3 separate regions of the Homo sapiens genome follow, and all the other regions are linked to region 1. Evidence: promoter capture Hi-C in 16 types of primary human blood cells and fetal thymus (Javierre and others, 2016). All regions are on one chromosome and are shown on one strand. The core of a region is centred on a gene start or on the middle of the fragment in contact, and the rest is flanking DNA. Distances in the headings are between cores, read along the strand shown. Region 1 holds the start of ADAMTS9-AS1 (ADAMTS9 antisense RNA 1). Region 2 has its middle 77 kb from the start of LINC02040. Region 3 holds the start of LOC105377127 (a long non-coding RNA gene).

Region 1 (3,580 bases), core at 396-2,895:
CATATGGTTCTCCTCTCTGGCATAGATTTATCTGAAACAGTATGATTTCTCAAGTTACCTTCTAAATATCGTTACCTGTTTTCTTAAAATCTGAAATGGAGAGAAAATTACCATTCAGCAGAATACATTTGGGTGTGATTCTTGATAGTAAATTTCCATTAATAGTCTCAAAGAAAGTTGAATGTTGCTACAGGTTAATTGGAAAATAATTTTTTCAAGTTTGAAAGGTCATGATTCTATTATTTAAGAAGACTTCCTCTTAGGAATATGGCTTTAATGTATGTTAAGCTTATTTTCTCAACACCAGACCAAAAAATGGAGGCTGAGCTATCACAAAAATTTGGAAATAATTTTTAATAGCTAAGTGTAATAATATACCATTCTTTCCAAATGTTGCCTTTAGTTTCTGGCTGTCAAAACCTTAATCAAGACAATAATTCTTGGCCTGGCCATAAGTGAGATTATGAAACCCAGCAATGAGGAAACCATTAAAAAATTAATTTAGAGGAAAGTTAATTGCAGATTTAATATGGTGTTTTGCAAGTTGGTCAGCAAAATGTTTCAACATGATTAACAATATTTTTCAAGGGCTGAAAACATTAAGCCCGAGGAAATGGTTTTTCCTGTCAGCTTTTATTCTTCATATATTCATCTGAGGTTGTAAATAGACACAAATTCTTTAGTGAATTCTGTGGTTAAAAAAATATCGCCTTATCTCCATGAATAGGAGCAAGAAAAGGAAGAGACTGGAGAAAATAATTCTACTTATAAAGTCCTAAAATCTTCAGTGGTTTACTTCTCCTTGGGTTATATTTTTAATCTGCCAAGAAATTCTTCTTGTACAACACTGTCTCTCCAGTTTTCATGAGTCTCAAATCCTCCAGGATAGAAATCATTTCAAGTTTTCATTTCTCATGGCAGCACTATTTCCAGGTTGTGCTAAATGATTCATAATGATTTTTATTAACCTCTTCAATCCTCTAAGAATTACATTAACTTGAGGGATTCCTCCAAACTTGAGCACCTTCCTCACTCTCCAGCGTGGATAAGATAAGCAGTGAGTTTCCAGGTTTAAGACATGATCTAGGATCCCTTTCATTGCAAATTAGAAAGCGATGTGATAGCTATGAAAGTCATTGGATTAGGAGTGCATTCCCCTCCTCTGTGACCCTCGACACCCCCCGCCCCCCCAAAAAATAAATGAGCCGAAGCTCCCACTTACGTTCTCTGTCTTCTTAGTGCTCTGTGTCCTGTGGCCGAGGCGTACAGCAGAGGCATGTGGGCTGTCAGATCGGAACACACAAAATAGCCAGAGAGACCGAGTGCAACCCATACACCAGACCGGAGTCGGAACGCGACTGCCAAGGCCCACGGTGTCCCCTCTACACTTGGAGGGCAGAGGAATGGCAAGAAGTAAGTAGAGCCACAAAGGGGTACCTGCCAGGCATTTCACGTGTGCGCCCCTTGCTATCCTCACATCTGTTCCCTATAAAGCCAGAGAAGTCACCGAGCACGGTTACAATGCTGGCTCTTTCCCAAAAGGTTCACTGTCAGACTCGCGCATTCGCTCCAACAAGGGTGGGAGAACTTCTTGTTTTTAAGCAATTCCTACGTCTGTCTGTATTCCTGAGTGTTCCAAGTCTGGCCGCCTCAAAAAAAAAAAAAAAAACTTTAACAGGCTGTGGGCCGAATGCATTCAGATATCTTTCACAGAAGGAGGGGGAGATAGAAGGAATATTTTAAATACGTGTCTCCAGATTTGGTCATTCTGTATCTGTTTAAATAGCCGCAGGGCAGACTTTAGGTAGAACCTACTCTGTATTTTTCCTCTTTCTATGACTTTGGCTGTCAGGTAGAAGATAGGCATTCATGTGAAACCTTGATTAATTAGTGAAAGATTTCTAACATTTAAAAAAAAAAAAAAAGGATGGTATCTGAAGAAACTGCTCCGTTGATGGTCCGTGCAGAAGTGGACAGGCCTTGCTTTTTCCCTGGCTTCAAGTTAATGTTTGGTTAAGGAAAACATTGTGTCCATGGGGAAAAGTTTGGCCAGGGAGGTTTTATAGGAGGTAACCTCTGTTTCCAGAACAGAAGATTAAACTGTAGAAAAGGGGGGGAAAGAATTAGAAAGCAAAACAATATCCACTGATGTTGGCATAAAAAACAAAATGCATGCTGCTTGAGGTGCAGAGATAATGAAAAATAAGGCAGGAAATTCCCCACCATGAAGAGTTTTTCAGAACATAAAGAAAGGGTATGGTTTGGAGAACAGTTAGACTGTACCCCTGGCACTGTGCTGGGTACTTTTTGTTCATTGCTTCCCTTAATCTTTTTAACCACCAGACAAGGTGAGCATTATTATTATTATCATCATCCCATTTTGCAGGTGAAAAAACTGAGGTTCACAGAATCTGTGTCATTTGTCCAAGTGTCACATACCTAGCACCTAGCAAGTGGAAGAAGCAAGACTTCATGCTAAGCTTGTTCTCTTAAACCATTAAGAAATACTAGAACTGCATTCTTTACCCCATTGGGATTCAGCCGCCCAGCCCTGTCTTCCTCTTCCCTCGCCTCCTCATGGATTACTTCCATTGGTTGCAGTAATTTCTTTTCTTTAGGAAACTCACCCTCTCCATCTACTCAGTCTTTTTCCTGTTTTCCTTCTTTACTTTTTTATTCCCACCAGACAGTGGCAGGGAGGAATGCCTAAAGCAGTTACATTTCAGATTAACAGCTCTTGAGCCACACCAGTTATTTGGAACCCTAGAGACTATAAAATTCTACAGACTTGGTTCATATCCTAGCACTGCCACACATTAGCCAAGGGAATTAGAACAAGGATTCTTGATTTCTCTGAGCCTTGGATTATCCATTTGTAGAATGGGGATAAAATAACTTTTCAGAGTTGTTCTGAGAAAACTGGAGGTAATAGTGTTATCTATTATGGTTTGGGGATTGGCAACGTCAGATATAGAAGGAAGAGGAGACTCCCTCATCTCTCTCGCTCTCCCCCTCAGTGTGACCTCTTGATTCTCTTTTTTTCAGACCTACCATGGCCTGCTCTCTCCATCTCCCTCTTTGTGTCACGCTAAACTCAACCCTGCTCCGAGGAGCGGAAAGTAAGAGAGTGTTCAGAAATGAATCTAAGCTGACTGCTTGTGCTTTAGCCAGCTTTTGAAAATGCTAGAGCCAATCACGAAAATGCACACTCTGTTTACAATTCCTTTTGCATCCCGAAGAATGGAAAAACCTTGCCACATATGCACTGAGGAAATTCCTCTTCTCTGATCATGCACAATATGCCTAAAATTTACTTCTTTGCATGTGTCGTGCAGATGGATCTTTTTTAAACCTTACTCAAATATTCCTGTTAAACTCTGTGGAAGAATAGACGGCTTCAGGAGATAACCTGGCCTGGGCCTCTATTTAAGAAGCTTACTAGAGGGTTGCCATTCTCACAAAGAGAAAAGACTCTGTGAGTAACAGGAAAAGCAGAGTCTAATAGTCACCCTCCTGGGAACACGCTTTCTCATCTGCCTTCACCCAAAGTGGAGGGTCTAAGGAAGGAATACTGGGGTGG
Region 2 (3,580 bases), core at 315-2,814, 690 kb before region 1:
TATACCCAAAGGATTATAAATCATTCCACTATAAAGACACAGGCACACGTATGTTTATTGTGGCACTATTCACAATAGCAAAGACTTGGAACCAACCCAAATGCACATCAATGATAGACTGGATAAAGAAAATGTGACACATATACACCATGGAATACTATGCAGCCATAAAAAAGGATGGGTTCATATCCTTTGCAGGGTCATGGATGAAGCTAGAAGCCATCATTCTCAGCCAACTATCACAAGAACAGAAAACCAAGCACTGCGTGTTTTCACTCATAAGTGGGAGTTGAACAATGAGAACACATGGCCACAGGGAGGGGAACATCACACACCAGCCCTTTCGGGGGGTGGGGGGCTAGGGGAGGGATAGCATTAAGAGAAATACCTAATGTAGGTGAAGGGTTGTTGGGTGCCGCAAACCACCATGGCGCTTGTATACCTTTGTAACAAAACTGCATGTTCTGCACATGCAACGCAGAACTTAAAGTATAATTGAAAAAAAAGAAAAAGAAACTAGACCACCCCTGGAGAGTGTTAAAAAAAATTCTTACATTCATTGATTATCTTCTTTAACAGAGTGGATCCTGGCCTTGGTTCTATGAACGTCCTGATGGGTTTGTTATACAAGTATGAAGGTCAGAACTGTAGAGATGTGAATTACTGTTAAGATGTTTTAGGCTGAAAAAAGGAAAACAATGCCCCAAATGAGCTTAAGGATTAAGTAAAGTATTATCTCATAAGAGGAAGGTTAGTGGTTGAAAGACTTCAGAGTTTGTTGATTCAGGAGTCAAGGAATGTGGTTGTATTAATCAGGTTGAGTAATGATATGTGCTATAACAACAAATTAGTCCTGAGATCTCAGTGGTTTAACACACAAAAAGACACTAGTCATTCATGTAATCATTTAATGGAAATAGAGGCCTCTACTACATTCAAGAACTTTGGCTTCTTCTATGTGATAGCTCTGTCATCTTCAATATGGCTTCACAATCACCCTATCATCATTCAGCCTGCAGATGGGGAAAGAGCAAGGATAGGGAGGATGAACCAGGCCATTTTAAAGGCCAGGCCTAGAAGCTGTAAACATTACTTTCATACACAATCCATTGGTCAGGACTCAATTTTCTGGTAATGCCTGACTTCAGGGGAGGGGGCAGGGTGGCTGTTAACTGTAGTTTATTCTGTGCTCAGGAGAAAAATAAAATGGGTTTGGTGAATTCATTGTCTCTATCTCCTGAGCTTTTTCTCCTTTTCTGCTCTGTCATTTTCAAAGTCACTCCTTCTCTTCTGGTAGCAAGATGGCTGCAGCAGTTCCAGGTGCCCTATCCAACTACCACAGCTGAGAGAAGAAAAGAAATAATTTCTTATTTGTGTGTCTCCCATGAATGAGGAAACTTTTCCCAGAAGCCCCCAGCAAATCTTCCCTTATGTTTCATTGGCCGGATTTGGATCACATGCTTTTTTCTGTAGCAATCCCTGAAAGGGAAATGGGATTGCTGTTTGACAAGTCAAACCTGTCCCTGAGGCTGGTAAGGGGCAATGTCCTCTGGAGCACACAGTTGTTTGTACATGTGAATCTCTAAAAAATTTCAGGGTTCTGTTAGGATGCAAGAGGGAAGTGTTGTCTGGTATCCATGCAGCAGGGTCTGGTGTAGTTACTGTATGTACTCAGGAGGAACTAAGTTGGTTTCTCTGGGCACTGAGTGAGGAGGACTGTGAGGAGAAAGACGGGTGATGTGGCAGGAGATCTGAGGTGACTGCTCTCTCAGTTCCGTGTCCTTCAATACATTCTTCCTCTTTCTCAGACTGCTTTTGTACAAACTGGCAAGGGGCTGAATTTCTTATCTAGGTTGACAAGGAGGGAAAAGGAACAAATGCAGGAGCTAGGGATAGAGGAGATCTAGGGAAGTGGTAGAAGCCATTGGGAGGGCAGTGTAGTTGGGTTTTAGCCAAGTTAATCTACATTGCAGGTTGCAGACAGGTTGCACACATCACAGGTGGTTGCAGACAGGGCCTCAGCAACCACCTGGGTAACAAGATGGCAGCCACAGACTGTGTGGATTTTAACCTGATAGCATCATTCTTCCAGAAATTGTAAGTAACACTGAGAACAAAACCTTGGGGCTGGGTGAATTCTTTGGTTAGTTTAATTAATGTACCATTTGCTAACCACAAAACACATGCTGATTTTGACTTCTTCCCTTTGTGTTGACAAAAGAAGACATGGAAGTCAAGAAATAGAAGACCGTCTGGGAGAGTGAGATCCTAGAAGTATGGATGGGAACTGGGCTAGGTGAAGTGTGATTTACTTCCTAGGAAGTGATGCAAAGATTTCTCAGTCACAAAGTTTTCCATGATGAAAATGACCCATAGTCATCCAGTGAAAAGGTGACAGTCTGAAAGTCTACCCAGTGAATGTCCCAAAGGCTTTGAATGCTGTGCCCATGGGTGACCAGAGCATATTCCCTGGGAAGTGACACAGAGGTTCAGAGCATTGCCTCTGGGGTGAGACAGTCCTGGGTCTCAAGTTTCGTCCTCTTTCCTAGCTCCTTGATCTGAAGTAGCTGTCTTAACCTCTTTAGACTCAGTTTCCCATTGGCAATATACATTAGGGTCATTGTGCAGCTTGTAAGAGATATTTAACGTAAAAGTGATTGGTAGAGTCCCTAGATGGCAGAAAATGCCTAATAAATTCTAGCTATTCTTTCTCCTGAAATTTTAGTCTGTAACACAGCAGCTATGGTGGCAGAAACTGAGATGCACTTTGTGGATGACAGAAAGGTGAATAAAAGTGCATGCATGGGACTTTGGAAGAAGGTAGTCTCAAATGCCTTTTTAAGAGAGATTATATTGTCACTTCTCTGACAGTGTGGAAGATAAAACTGAGGGTGCAGCACTCTTCTTGGGAGGAAGAGCCCTGCTTTGACCTTGACATCTGTTGGTGCATTTAGCAAAACTTATTTTAAACAACTCCTAAGAATTTTATTCAATGTAAAACTTCTATATGTATCTGGATGGAAATACTGATCTACCCTTGATTCATTTTATCCATCACCTATCTTACCTTATCCCACCTCACACTATATCTTATCTTATCTTATCTTATCTTATCCATCTAGTCTTGTCTTGTCTTTCTGTCTGTCTGTCTGTCTATCTGTTTCATACATCATCCATCCATCTGGTTATGTCCATAGGATGTAAATGATAAAGAACTTTCTGCCCTCAAGTTGCTCCTAAGCTTGGAGGGAGACATTCCAATAGACAAAACAAGAGGACCAAAGTATTCATGGGATGCTTTAATGCAGCACAGAGGGTATCCACTGCAGATTGGCAGTGGACCGAGAAGGCTTCCGAAGGGTTAGTAAGAAGAATCCAGGTAAAATGTATAGACAAGAGGTGGAGAAGGATGCTGGTAAGGACATTGGTAGTAGAATCCCCAGTCAATGCAAAGGCCTGGGGGCAGGCAGGTGAAAGACACCTTAGGAACACACTGAGTAGTTAATCATGGATAAAGCAAGGGCAATGCATCCTAAATGCTACTGAGCATAGAAGGCACCGAGAGAGCTTGTTAAAATGC
Region 3 (3,580 bases), core at 757-3,256, 620 kb before region 1:
CATTTCTCATTCCATTCATTTGAGCTTTGGGGAAGAAGAAAAGAGTGTAAAGGAGCAAACTTTTGAAAAATATAGATGTCAGGAGGAAATACTGGTGTGTGGTTAAGGAGATGCAGAGTTCAGTTTTAGAGCTGGTGGAATGATAAGAAAAGGATGCATCAAAGAATAGGAGAGGTGAGCCTTTTGTGTAAGGAAGGAATTAAAACAAAAGAGATAAAGATTGGGGCAGCAGGGTTATATCTTGTATTAGTTATCTATTGCTGTACAACCAATTACCCTAAAATGTAGCAACTTAAAATGACTACATATTTACGATTTCACAGATTCTGTGGATCAGGAAACCAGGTGCCACGTATAGCTGGGTCCTCTAGCTTTGGGTCTCTCACAGGGCTATAGTCATCTCAAGGCTTGCCTGGGGAGGATTCGCTTCTAAGAACACTCATGTGTTTGTTGGCAGGCTTCCAATCCTTGTGGGTTGTTGGAGTGAGTTTCAGCTCCTCATAAGCTGTAAACCACCCTTGGTTTCTTGCCACGTGGGCATCTCCATCGGGCAACTCACAACATGGCAGCAAGCAAGCAAGAGGGTAAGAGAGACTGCCAGCAACAGAGACAGAAAGCCAGCGAGATGCAGGTAAGACTGCAACCACATCATGGAAATGACATCTCATCACCTGTGCTATGTTCCGTTTGTTAAAACTGAGTCAGTAGGTTCTGTGCACAAAGGAAGGGGATTCCACAGGTGCCTGCGTACCAGGAGGCAGAGGTCGCTAGGAGCCCTGTCAGAGCTGCCGACCACATCTACATAAAGTAATATTCGAGGACATGGTGCTACTTCACTACGGAAAAGCTCTCTAAGCATTTTTTGCCTCCTACAGCCTTGCTGTTAGAAACTTCCATAAAGTATTAGAAATGTTTTCCTTCGATAGAAGACCATATGTCAGTGGAGATGTTTTTGTCATTTACTAATGCACTCAGTAACTTGATTAGAAAAGTGAACTGTGCAATACTGTATAATTTCAAATGCTTTTCTAGCAAAAATGTATTACCTTTAATTAGACTGATTTAAAGCTGTTAAGATTCTTGTCAGAAATAATTTTTAAGTGGATGTGTCAAGATAACAGCAGTTGTCAAGTGAAGCAAATGGTAATTTGTGCATGTGCTGTCTGGCTTATGAGCAACTGGGTCTTTAAATACTAGCTGAGTGTTTGTGCTTACAATCCCTTTTATAGCAGCCACTCTGGCAGTTAAGGATTCAAACTGTTGAAATGCTATTGTTTGTGGTAAATATTTGTCCTATGACTACGGAATTAAATTTGCTTCCTGCCCTGTAATACAGACAAAAGCACCACTAAGAAGGGAATGCATTTAAGCAATTCAATTTACCAATTGGTCCAGCACAGAACATAAGCAAAGCATTCTGGGTGATTACAGTGGAATAATGATAATCATAAAGACCATTCTTTGATGAAAGCAAACCAGGTGACTTGAAGCATTTGAAAAAACTTGAATTCTATCTTGCAATCTTTTTAGGTTATTCATTTCTTTAGCAAGCTTTTGTTATTGGGCAGTGGAAAGGCGGGCTTTTTCTTGACTTTGTGGCGGGGTTTCTTAGTAGTGTCACTATTGACTTTGGGGACATATAATTCTTTGTTGGAGGCAGGGGTTCTGTCCTGTGCACTGTAAGTTGTTTAGCACCATTTCTGGCTTCAACCCTCTGGATGCCAGTAGCTCTGTTCTTCCCCACCCCAACCCCAGTTTTGATAAATAAATATATTTCCAGACAATGCCAGACATACTCAAAGGTAGGGGGAAGAAGGGAAAATCACCATGCTATGGGAATCAACATAGCTTTTTGATATGGTTTGGCTTTGTGCCCCCACTGAAATCTTATCCTGAATTTGTAATCTCCAGGTGTTGAGGAAGAGACTTGGTGGGAAGTTATTGGATTATGGGGGCTGTTGCTTTCATGCTGTTCTCGTGATAGTGGGTAGATTCTCACGAGATCTGATGGTTTTATAAATGGTAGTTTTTCCTGAGAAGCTCTCACAGGCTCTTCTCTCTCCTGCCACCATGTGAAGAAGGTCCTTGCTTCCCCTTCCATCATGATTGTGTTTCTTGGGGCTTCCTCAGCCATGTGGGACTGTGAGTCAGTTAAACTTCTTTTCTTTATAAATTACTCAGTCTCGGGCAGTTCTTTATAGCAGTGTGAGAACGGACTAATACACTTTTGGCTTAGGAAATTCGAAATTAACAGGATTTAATATGTTAAATTTATAAATATTTTGTCTTTTCTGTTAGTCCTCCAAAGCATCCACATGCTATATAAGATTATATATTCTCTTATTGATTCAGTTAATAGGCATTTGTTAAGTGCTTACTACCTGCAAAAGACGTTACCCAGGTATTAGGGAGATAAGGAGAAAAACAGATATAGATTTTTGTTTTGTCTTGAAGAAGCTTGAGATGTGTGGCAGTGGGGCAGGGACTTAGGTCATTCATACACATAACAGTAATGCAAGTAGAAAGCACCAAGTTTGACCAAAGAGCTAAAATTTTCTGAAATGTAGATTTCAGAAATAATCTAATGTAATTATTTATAATGTAAATTATTTCCTTCTATTTCAGAAATTTCAGAAATAATGTAAATAGAAGGAAAGGAACTTCTATTTTTCTCTTGCAGGCAAGTGGTGGGTTAAAAGCTCAACCCTGAGCTGAATTTAATAGGGTGAGGTTGACCTGTAGTTTAGGCATATGAGAGTAGGTTTTGGGTTGGGACTGAAACTCCGGAATATAACATCAAGTCTAATGGGGCAAGGCAGGGAGATGGAAACCCAGCCTGAAGCCCATGGTTCTCAATTACAAGTAGCAAAATGGAGGCAGCACATTCAAGGGGACCAACAGAGACAGGCACTGGAGAAGGTCCCAGAAACACAGACAGCACCTGGTGCCTTTGGTAGGAAAACTGCTCATAGCTCCCTGGAGCAATGAGAGATGTAAAAGGGCTACACTAGTTTGATGAAAAGAGAGGCCTTTCAGTGGAACCAAAATGATTATTCTCCAATGTATAGTGCTCAGAAACTCAGCAGTGGTGTATGGAGAGCAAGTCCAAACCAAATAGAGGCCGCAGAAGACGAGATATCAAAAGGTTCTCTTTCCCAGTACCTACCACAGGCTGGCTGCTTGCCCAACATCTCCATCAGTAGAGTTCTGACGTTTGAGCCAGCCTTCTGAAAAAAGCAAAAATTCTCCCGGAGATGGTATTAGTAGCCACAAATCTCTTGGTGGTACAATTCTTGAAGTATATTCCTAAGACTTTTAATGGGTGTTATTGTGAAGAGTTCTATTCACAAGTGTGTTTTTGGAATGACAGGTAAAACAAGAGAAACATCTGCCTTCACTGTAAAAATTGTCAGTCTTTCAGGTACACTATAAACCTCAAATCGAGGGATATGATGGGAAGCCTTTCCCAGATTTATTTGACTACAAAGCTATTTCACTGTGTAGCATCTGTGCTTTGGTAACCCTGCCTTGTTGTGAATGAGTTTGTGAAATAAGTGGCTTTTGCCAACTCTCTGAACTT

Evidence for each region. Contacts are between HindIII fragments. The CHiCAGO score rates a contact against its expected background, and 5 or more counts as called.
Region 2: a contact is called between a fragment that was not itself captured here and the fragment with the promoter of ADAMTS9-AS1 in region 1, in 1 of 17 cell types (endothelial precursors). The highest score is 5.5, in endothelial precursors.
Region 3: a fragment that was not itself captured here is called in contact with the fragment with the promoter of ADAMTS9-AS1 in region 1 in 1 of 17 cell types (endothelial precursors); the score reaches 5.4 in endothelial precursors.

Annotation. Positions count from the first base shown.
Region 1 is chr3:64,559,411-64,562,990 of GRCh38, reverse strand. ADAMTS9-AS1 (ADAMTS9 antisense RNA 1) reads right to left here and starts at 1,645. Exons shown (of 2, transcript NR_110151.1): 1 at 1,223-1,645. ADAMTS9 (ADAM metallopeptidase with thrombospondin type 1 motif 9) reads left to right here. Exons shown (of 40, transcript NM_182920.2): 30 at 1,240-1,413. The HindIII fragment of the contact is 2,192 bases long and covers 291-2,482 here.
Region 2 is chr3:65,249,710-65,253,289 of GRCh38, reverse strand. No RefSeq gene overlaps it. Among named protein-coding and RNA genes, the nearest start is that of LINC02040, 77 kb to the right of the region's middle. The HindIII fragment of the contact is 3,358 bases long and covers 1-3,243 here.
Region 3 is chr3:65,175,782-65,179,361 of GRCh38, reverse strand. The region is part of intron 1 of LINC02040 (long intergenic non-protein coding RNA 2040); the gene reads right to left. It overlaps LOC105377127 (a long non-coding RNA gene), which reads left to right and starts at 383. Exons shown (of 4, transcript XR_001740736.1): 1 at 383-631. The HindIII fragment of the contact is 906 bases long and covers 1,554-2,459 here.